2 separate regions of the Homo sapiens genome follow, and region 1 is linked to region 2. Evidence: promoter capture Hi-C in 16 types of primary human blood cells and fetal thymus (Javierre and others, 2016). All regions are on one chromosome and are shown on one strand. The core of a region is centred on a gene start or on the middle of the fragment in contact, and the rest is flanking DNA. Distances in the headings are between cores, read along the strand shown.

The links. The method cuts DNA at HindIII sites, captures the fragments that hold promoters and counts their contacts. A CHiCAGO score of 5 or more calls a contact.
Region 1: a fragment that was not itself captured here is called in contact with the fragment with the promoter of OCLN in region 2 in 1 of 17 cell types (naive B cells); the score reaches 5.0 in naive B cells.

The regions. Positions count from the first base shown.
Region 1 is chr5:69,250,995-69,255,536 of GRCh38, reverse strand. CDK7 (cyclin dependent kinase 7) reads right to left here. Exons shown (of 12, transcript NM_001799.4): 3 at 3,086-3,119; 4 at 868-935; 5 at 9-77. Among named protein-coding and RNA genes, the nearest start is that of CDK7, 18 kb to the right of the region's middle. RefSeq lists an enhancer at 4,477-4,542. The HindIII fragment of the contact is 554 bases long and covers 1,860-2,413 here.
Region 2 is chr5:69,489,970-69,494,550 of GRCh38, reverse strand. OCLN (occludin) reads right to left here and starts at 1,761. Exons shown (of 9, transcript NM_001205254.2): 1 at 1,651-1,761. The HindIII fragment of the contact is 10,406 bases long and covers 1,411-4,581 here.

The DNA.
Region 1 (4,542 bases), core at 887-3,386, 240 kb after region 2:
AATCTTACCTCTAGATCAGTTTCCATAAAATCAAAGACAAGGCTAATATTAGATTTATGTCCAAAAGCATCAAGGAGCTGCAAAGTTAAAAAATTAAAATGTGATTCACTATTTAATACCTGACAGTATCATAGCAACTGAGGCAATTTTTAAAAATTTAAAAAGCATTTAAACTGTTGGTAATTCCCTATAAAGCTTAAATCATTTGATTAAATTTGACATTTGTCCTTTTTTGGACAGTACTAAAGGAATTAGTATTTTGAAGCATAAAAATATTAAATTTTACTTAAAAAAATACCCAACCTCTTTCCCCAAATATTTGGAGTTAGAATTAAGAAATTAACCAATGAAAACCTCATTCCAGTCTCCAATTCAAAAGAAAAGTCCCAAATGTGATTCTTAAGAAATCCTCTAAATAACAGCAGCTATCATTGAATGAATGAATACATTTTCTATGGTAGGCACTATTCCAGATACTTTACATCTATTCAATTGGCTAGTCTCACAACTTCCCTATGAGGCAGGGACTCTGGGGAGTTGTGAGTGAACACACTCAAGGTCTCACACAGGCAGAAAGAAAGGTTTTGAATTCAGGTTGACACTCTCAGCCACTACATGCTAGAGCTCCCTAGACTTCAAAATTATTTCCGACAAAATTAGCCTACATGTCAATATTTCATTTATTTAATCAGTGGTATAGTTTTGAAGACAATGCCTACCAAAACAACTGGGATAGAAAATGTATTTCCTTTAAGCTTCTACAAGGCTCATCCAGAACAAGTCATCTTGCTGAGCCTTTAATCAACATCCATTATATTAAGAAAAGGCAGAGTCCCAAATCCCAGTAACAGTTTTGATCATACTCACACCAATTATATTTGGATGACTTAGCTCCTGTAATAATTTTATCTCTCTTAAGGCGGTTCTATTTATACCTATATAAAAAGGCAAAGCAAAAAGTGAATAATTCTGAAATCTCAAACCTTACAAACACTTCTTTTTTTTTTTTTTTTTTGAGATGGAGTCTCGCTCTGTCGCCCAGGCTAGAGTGTAGTGGCGTGATCTCGGCTCACTGCAACCTCTGCTTCCCGGGTTCAAGCAATTCTCCTGCCTCAGCCTCCAGAGTAGCAGGGATTACAGGCACGCGCCACCACGCCCGGCTAATTTTTGTATTTTTAGTAAAGGCGGGGTTTCACCATGTTCATCAGGCTGGTCTCCAACTCCTGACCTCGTGATCCACCCGCTTTGGCCTCCTGAAGTGCTGGGATTACAGGCGTGAGCCACCACACCCAGCCACAAACACATATTTTTAAAGAAAGGTTAGTAATCTCAGAAAATAGTGAACATTACCCACAAAAATAAGGGCTACTTTGACAATTTTTATGTCAAATCTGTTGTTCTTTTACATTGCTTTATTTTTATTTATTTATTTTTTTTGAGATGGGGTTTCACCCTGTCAGCCAGGTTGGAGTGCAGTGGCATGATCTCGGCTCACAGCAGCCTCCACCTCCCAGACTCAAGTAATTTTCCCACCTCAGCCTCCCGAGTAGCTGGGACCACAGGTGTGCACCTCCACGCCTGGCTAATTTTTTGTATTTTCGTTAGAGATGGGGTTTTGCCATATTGGCCAGGCTGGTTTCGAACTCCTGAGCTCAGGCGATCTACCCACCTCACCCTCCCAAAGTGCTGGGATTACAGGCGTAAGCCATGGCACCAGGCCAATATTGCTTTACTTTTAAAATAGCTTAACAAAGACTACGACAAATGGTGAAAAATATTTCACCTTATCTATACCAGGATCTGAACACCACTACTAGACTAACAACATATATAAGTGTGCAGCATATAGGTGATAAGCTTCCCTACTCTTGCCCTACAAATATTAGTGGCATATTGTTTGTGCTAAAAGCAAACTAGTGATAAGATAGTATATTTTCCAATACAAATGACAGATTTCAAAATTAAAAATTAGATACAGGCCGGGCGCGGTGGCTCGTAATCCCAGCACTTTGGGAGGCCTAGGTGGGCAGATCACTTGAGGCCAGGAGATCGAGACCAGCCTGGCCAAGGTGGCAAAACCCCATCTCTACTAAAAATACAAAAAATTGGCTGGGCATGGTGGTGTGCACCTGTAATCCTAGCTACTCAGGAAGCTGAGGCAGGAGAATCGCTTGAACCCGGGAGGTAGAGGTTGCAGTGAGCCGAGATTGCGATACTGCACTCCAGCCTGGGCAACAGAGCATGACTCTGTCTCAAAAAAAATAAACAAAATAAAAATAAGATATAGTATTGGCACTTACACAGACAATGGGTCTCTTTTGTAAGAGCTATTTTATGATGAATCCTAATAAATAAGACTTTGGAAGAAAGTTTAATGAAATAATTTCCTCATGTATCTATTCCATAGTAAGCTTTATGTACTTTCATGAAAATGTATCCTGAATTTTCAAAGTAATTAGAAACTCAGAAACAGAAAAAACAATGGCTTGTAACACCTAAAACAGTAATGAAGACAGAAAGACAAACTAATTAAGCTTGCTGCCTTCCATTTATGTGGGTGATTTGGAATGTTTCTCTGAATATCCAGTAAGTAAAAATCACCAAATACTCCTTCTCTATGCTGAGTCTATCTTTACTCTTCGGGGACCCTGCAGTAACTCTATCCAGAACCATTACTAACTTATTAATTCATACTTTGCTCGTTTCTTCAGTGAGAATGAAAACTTTATGCTGGGCATGGTGGCTCAAGCCTGTAATCCCAGCACTTTGGGAGGCCGAGGTGGGAGGATAGCTTGAGGCCAGGAGTTTGAGAGAAGCCTGAGCAACACAGCCAGACCTCATCTCTACAAAAAATAAAACATTAACCACAAGTGGTGGCACATGTTTACAGCCCTAGCTACTCAAGAGGCTGAGGTGGGAGAACTGCTTGAGTACCTAAGTTTGAGGCTGCAGTGAGCTACGATTGTGTCTCAGTACTCCAGCCTGGGTGACAGAGCAAGACCCTGTCTTTTTAAAAAAAAAAAAAAAAAAAAAAAAAAAAAAGGAGAAAACTTTTCCTATCTGTCAGATTACATGAAATACTTACCATCTTTAGCTTCTGATCTATGTCCAAGTTTGATCTGGTAGAAACGGAAAAAAACCCAAATATATTAAAAATGTGTTAAATTATTTAGAATCAATGAATAATGTGTAAATACTTCAAATACTTCGCCACAGAAAAAAAAACAATTAGCAACCAATATGTACCTACTAGGCAAAAAGAGAGTAGGAATCATGATCAGAAAGATAAAATTAACAATATAAGAGAGAATCAAATACCTACCCTTGTCCCTTAAGTTTCTGAACTACACATTCAAATAATAAAATTAAGAAAAATCTATTTTACCTTTTCAAGGTTCAATGTGGACCAAATAACTAAGGGTACCCTGATTAAAAATAAATACGTAACTTCAAATTAGGCTACTTGGGAGGAAAGATACAGAAAATAACATGCTGTAGAGTTGGTAATAAGCCCAATAATATGCTCTTAGACACCACATTTTTCAAAAAGCAAAATTACAAATTGTGATGGTTAAAATGTTGTTACTCTGAATAAACATAACAAATTACATTAACAGGTTTAGTCTTACACAAAATAAATTACCTGGGTAAAGAACATTCTCTCACTGCTTTTTAGAAAACTGTCAGTAATCAAGAAAAGACTGGCGGGGTGTAGTGGCTCACACTTGTAAATTCCAACACTTTGACAGGCCAAGGTGGGAGGATCGCTTGATCCCAGGAGTTTAAGACCAGCCTGGGCAACATAGCAAGACCTTGTGTCTACTCAACATTTTTAAAAATTAGCCAGGAGTGGTGGCACGTGCCTACAGTCCCAAGTACTCAGGAGGCTGAAGCAGGAGGATTGCTTGAGCCCAGGCTACAGTGAGCCATGATCACACTGCTGTACTCCAGCCTAGGCAACAGAGAGAGACTGTCTCAAACAAACAAAAAAACAAAAACACAAGTGGCTCATGCCTGCAATCCCAGTATTTTGGGAGGCCTGGGTAGGAGGATTGCTTGAGTACAGGAGTTAAAGATCAGTCTGGGCAACATAGCAAGACCCCGTCTCTACAAAAAATGTAAAAAGTTACTGGGGCATTGGCTGGGTGCGGCGGCTCATGCCTGTAATCCCAGCACTTTGGGAGGCCGAGGCAGGTGGATCACGAGGTCAGGAGTTCAAGACCAGCCTGGACAATATGGTGAAACCCCGTCTCTATTAAAAAAATACAGAAATTAGCCAGGCATGGTGGCACACGCCTGTAGTCCCAGCTACTTGGGAGGCTGAGGCAGAAGAATCGCTTGAACCCAGGAGGCGGAGCTTGCAGTGAGCCGAGATCGTGCCACTGCACTCCAGCCTGGGTGACAGAGCGAGACTCTGTCTCGAAAAAAAAAAAAAAAAAGTTACCGGGGCATGGTTGCATGTGCCTGTAGTTCCATCTACTTGGAAGGCTGAAGTGGGAGGATTGCTTGAGCCCAGGAGTTCGAGGCTGCAGTGAGCTATGA
Region 2 (4,581 bases), core at 512-3,011:
ATCTCTGCCTCCCACACACACTTAAGATGTCTATTTTAAAGCACCACTAAGAAAATATTCATAAAGGCTGGGTGTGGTGGCTTACGCCTGTAATCCCAGCACTTTGGGAGGCCAAGGCGGGCGAATCACCTGAGGTCAGGAGTTCGAGACCAGCCTGACCAAATGGCAAAACCCTGTCTCTACTAAAAATACAAAAATTAGCTGTGCATACTAGTGGGTGCCTGTAATCCCAGCTATTCGGGAGGCTGAGCAGGAGAATCGCTTGAACCCGGGAGGCAGAGGTTGCAGTGAGCCCAGATGATGCCACTGCACTGGGGGACAGAGCCAGACTCCGTCTCGGAAAAACACACACACACACACACACAAGCACCTCATATGTACAGTGCAAAAGAACTACTGTTACTATTGTTACACTTGGGAACGCCTAGTTTTCTATCACACCAAGAATCACCAAAAAACACCATAAGTGCCTTCATGGGAAACGTTTCTCTTTTCCAGGTATCCCAATAATACACCTGTTGCCTAAGGGCCACACACTGACTGGCCTGGAAAGCCGCCGCCTCCTCCTCGAGCAGGGTAATTCCCCAAGCGGGCAGTGTGGCCAGCGAGCCCCGGGTCCGGCCTAAGGATGCCGCGGCTTTTCCCTCGGGCCCGGTGGCTTCCCGAGGAGCGCGAGGGGCTCGGCGCCGCTCCCAACCCCTAGGCGCAGAGGCCATCTTGGCCCTCGACCCCTGCTCCCCGCACGCTTCCTCCGACGCAGGCAACATGGCTGGCGCGCGGGGCCGGCCCAGTCCCGGAGGTCCCCAAACTCCGTGGCCCGGCTGGGCGCGGGTCCCGGCTTCCGTGCGCACCGAGGCGCTCCCAGGCAGCGCGCGCCCACGTTCGCCGGGCAGGCACCGCCCGGAGGCAGTTCCGCCCCCCTGGGGGCAGCCCTTTTGGTCACGGATGAGAATCCGAAGCGTGAGCAGCTTCCCTCGAAGTCCAGCCTCACTCGAAATTAACTCCCCGCCCCCCAGCTTAAATCGACGCGGGTTCACACAACTCGCAACAAGTGGATTCGAAGTAGCCAGTGTGGCCCACACCGTGACTCCTGGAATATTTCACAGATTGAATCCAGCCCCCGTCTCCCCGGGATATCCAAAGGGGTGGGGTGGGAGCGGAAGGAATGAAATTCCCCCCGGGATCTAAGCCGCCCGGGCCGCCGAACAGCCGCCTCGCTGCAGCCTCAGGCTTAGGACCCCCAAGGAGCTGGGCGCAGGATCCCTCTCCATGAAGGCCGCCCCCCCAAACTGCAGCCCCAGAGCGGATGCAGGATCGTCGCTGTTCAGGAATGTCGTGCCCCATAAAAGTGAAAAGTTGCCCGCGCCGCTGAGGCACTGCTAGCTTTCAGCGTTTCCGCGGAATAAAGCTTGATCGGCGGCTCCAAGCCACCCCTCGCCCCAGGAGGCAGCCTCCCAAGTTGGCCGGTGCTGCTCTCTCCGCAGACCCGCGCCTCTCTGGTTCCCACGAGTCCCAGCTCGGGGACGAAACTGCCACCGAAACCAGCGCGGAGCGTCCTCCCCCCGGCACCTCCCCTAACATAGTCGCCGCGGTCCCCCCACGGGGACCCTCGGGCTCCCGTGCGCCCCTGACGCCGCGCCCAACACTCACCCGCTCGCCGCAACTGGGCCCGACCCTCCGGGGGCCAACGGTGCCAGGGAGCGCGCTCACCTGGCGGGCGCACCTGACGCCGCACCGACCGCCAGCGCTCAGCCGGGGACTGGGCTGGGGACGTCTCCTCCCCCTTCTCCCTCTCCTTTCCCTCCTCCCTACAACCGGCCCTGCCCCCGGGCATGCGCACCAACGTGGAAGGGGGTGCGGGAAGCCTGCGGGCCAGCGCCGCGAGTCCCACCTGCTGCGTCCTAGACCGGCTCCTCGGCGCTCTGGACCTGGCTCTCGGTTCCTGCCGCCTCCGCCAGAGGAAGCAGGGAGGGAGAGGTGGACGCGGGAGTGTAGGTGTGGTGTGTCGGCCTCCTCCCTCGGTGACCAATTCACCTGAAACTCGGATGGGAGGGGGCGGGAGGACGCGGTCCTGCTTCCCACACCCTGCCAGCGCGCTGTTAAAGGAACCGCGCGACGTTGCGGCCCGAGAGGCGGGGCGCAGAGGAGAGGCGCGGGCTCCTAGGGGGCAGCACGGATGGGGGTCCCTGACCACCCCGGGGTGCGTTCGGTGCTCCGCCTGCTTCGGATGGAACCTTGGGGTGTCTGATGGAGAGAGGCCGAACGAGGTCCAGAGGGGACTGTTTCCTCCGGAAAGAGGGTCCAGGCACTCAGCACTTTGATAGGAAAGGCACGTCCTCACAGGACACTTTTCTGCTTCCAGAATTTGATTAAACTGTTGCTGGAAAAAGGCATCTAGATGTATTGCTCCAACGAAAGACTCCTGGGAAAATTTCAAAAGTCGTGTGTAAACATTGGCGCTGTTTCTGAATCTCTAGATTCAGAATAAGAGACAATTACTTAGAGGGGTTAAAATGAGGGTGAACTACTGTAGGTGTTAGTTGCCATCCAGCAGGCTAAAGTGCATAATACAGTTTACACATCACCACCCCAGGGTCCTCTCCTGCCCACCCGGTCCGCTCTTGAGGACCGGGAAATTTAAACTATTATGGCTCTTTGGCCTGAGAAAAAGCACCTTATACGTTGTTTACCAACCTGTAGTGCTTTAAGAACAACACTACTTAAAAAGCAAAATAAACTTGGTTTACTTTTTTTTTTTTTTTAAGAAAACGAAAAAGCACCTTAGTTCCGGGTGCTGTATTCTATTTCTTGATCTGGATTCTGTTTCCAAGGGAAATTTCATAGTCTGCACTTAACACTGTGTATATTTTTATGTATGTTGGTTGTTTTTCAACATATTTTTTAATTGTACTCCAGGATGTGGCAATTATAGTTCTTGGCATTTAACTATCTGCATTGAAAGCGAACTTTTAGGTTTCTTACATCCTGCTTGTCTTTGTGTTCCAATCTGGAATGTCAGCATTGCTAATAAATTTCTATCCAATCCCACCCACTTCTCTACCTTTAATTAAATGGTTAGAGATGTGACTCTCCCATACATTAGATCTTAAGGCACAATTCATACTTGAGGAAGTAAAAGCACTATATAAATATGAGGTATTTCAGATGATGGCAGCTTTAATGGGTAATTAATTTAATTGGTATTTTTTTCGTGGAAGTCATTGCTACAAATGCTTTAATATGACTATGTAGTTTTTGAATGATGCAGTTTAAATTGGTATTGTTAACACTGGGGAAGTCAGGTTAATCCCCTTAATGTTCCCTGTCAGATTACTGAAATCTCCAAACATTCCATTTGGTTTATAATTAAACAAGGGAACATTTCCTAATACTCTCAGATTTGTAAACACATGTCTATTATTTTATAATGTATTTTGACATGTTCTGAAGAGATCTTAGGAGTTTTTTTCCACTTTATAAAAGAGAGTTCACATACCATAAAATTCACCCTTTTAAAGGGCACGTACAATTCAGTGGGTTTTAGTATACTCACCAGATTGTACAACCATCACCACCATCTAATTCCATTTTAATCGCCCCCAAAAGAAACCCCATGCCCATTAATAGTCACTCCCCATTTCCCCTCTCCCCTCATCCCTCGGCAACCACTAATGTACTTTCTGTCTCTATTAATTTGCCTATTCTGGACATTTTATATGAATGGATAATACAATATGTGCCCTTTGTGTCTGTCTTCTTTCACTTAGCATAATATTTTAAAGGTTCATCCATGATGTAGTATGTATTGGTACTTCATTCCTTTTTATAACTGAATAATATTCCATTGTATCGATGTATCACATTTCGTTTAATCATTCATCTGTTGATGAACATTTGGGTTGTTTCTCCTTTGGGGATGTTATGAATAATGTTACTATGAACATTTGTGTACAAGTTTTTGTGTGGACATATGTTTTCGGTTCTCTTGGTAAATTAGGTTTTTAAATTAAACTTTTTATCATTTTAAGATAACTTATGCATATCATGTTATTTTTCTTATTCCCACCCTAAACCTAAACTCAAAGACATGTTGTGTTGGGTAGAAGGCTTTCATATTCTATTTGCTTTCCCAATTCATTCCTTCAACTATTTTCTGAGTGCCTAATCTGTACACACACGAGTGAACAAAACTCAAAAATCTCTGTGAAACTTACTTTCTAGTTAGTTCTGAGTTCATCCATATGGAATAATAGGATTCATTAATTGTATGAATTCTATTTTATTCGCTTGAGATTAATTTTCTAAACAACAACATCAAAAGAACGGTTAACTATTGTCCAATATTGTGTATATTTCATAGTTGAAAGTGTCTAGAAAGAAAATCCAGCCTTAAAACTTAAACACATCATTCTTCAATACCAAAACAAAATTTGTTGGATGTTAAATGATGCCATGCTCAATTTAATCATGTTACATAATCATAAATTATAGCAAAATTTAATTACTATATTTTTTACCAAATATTCCTTCTTGGCAACTCACAGTAGTATTGAGTAGTATCCACTATTGAATATTATTTGA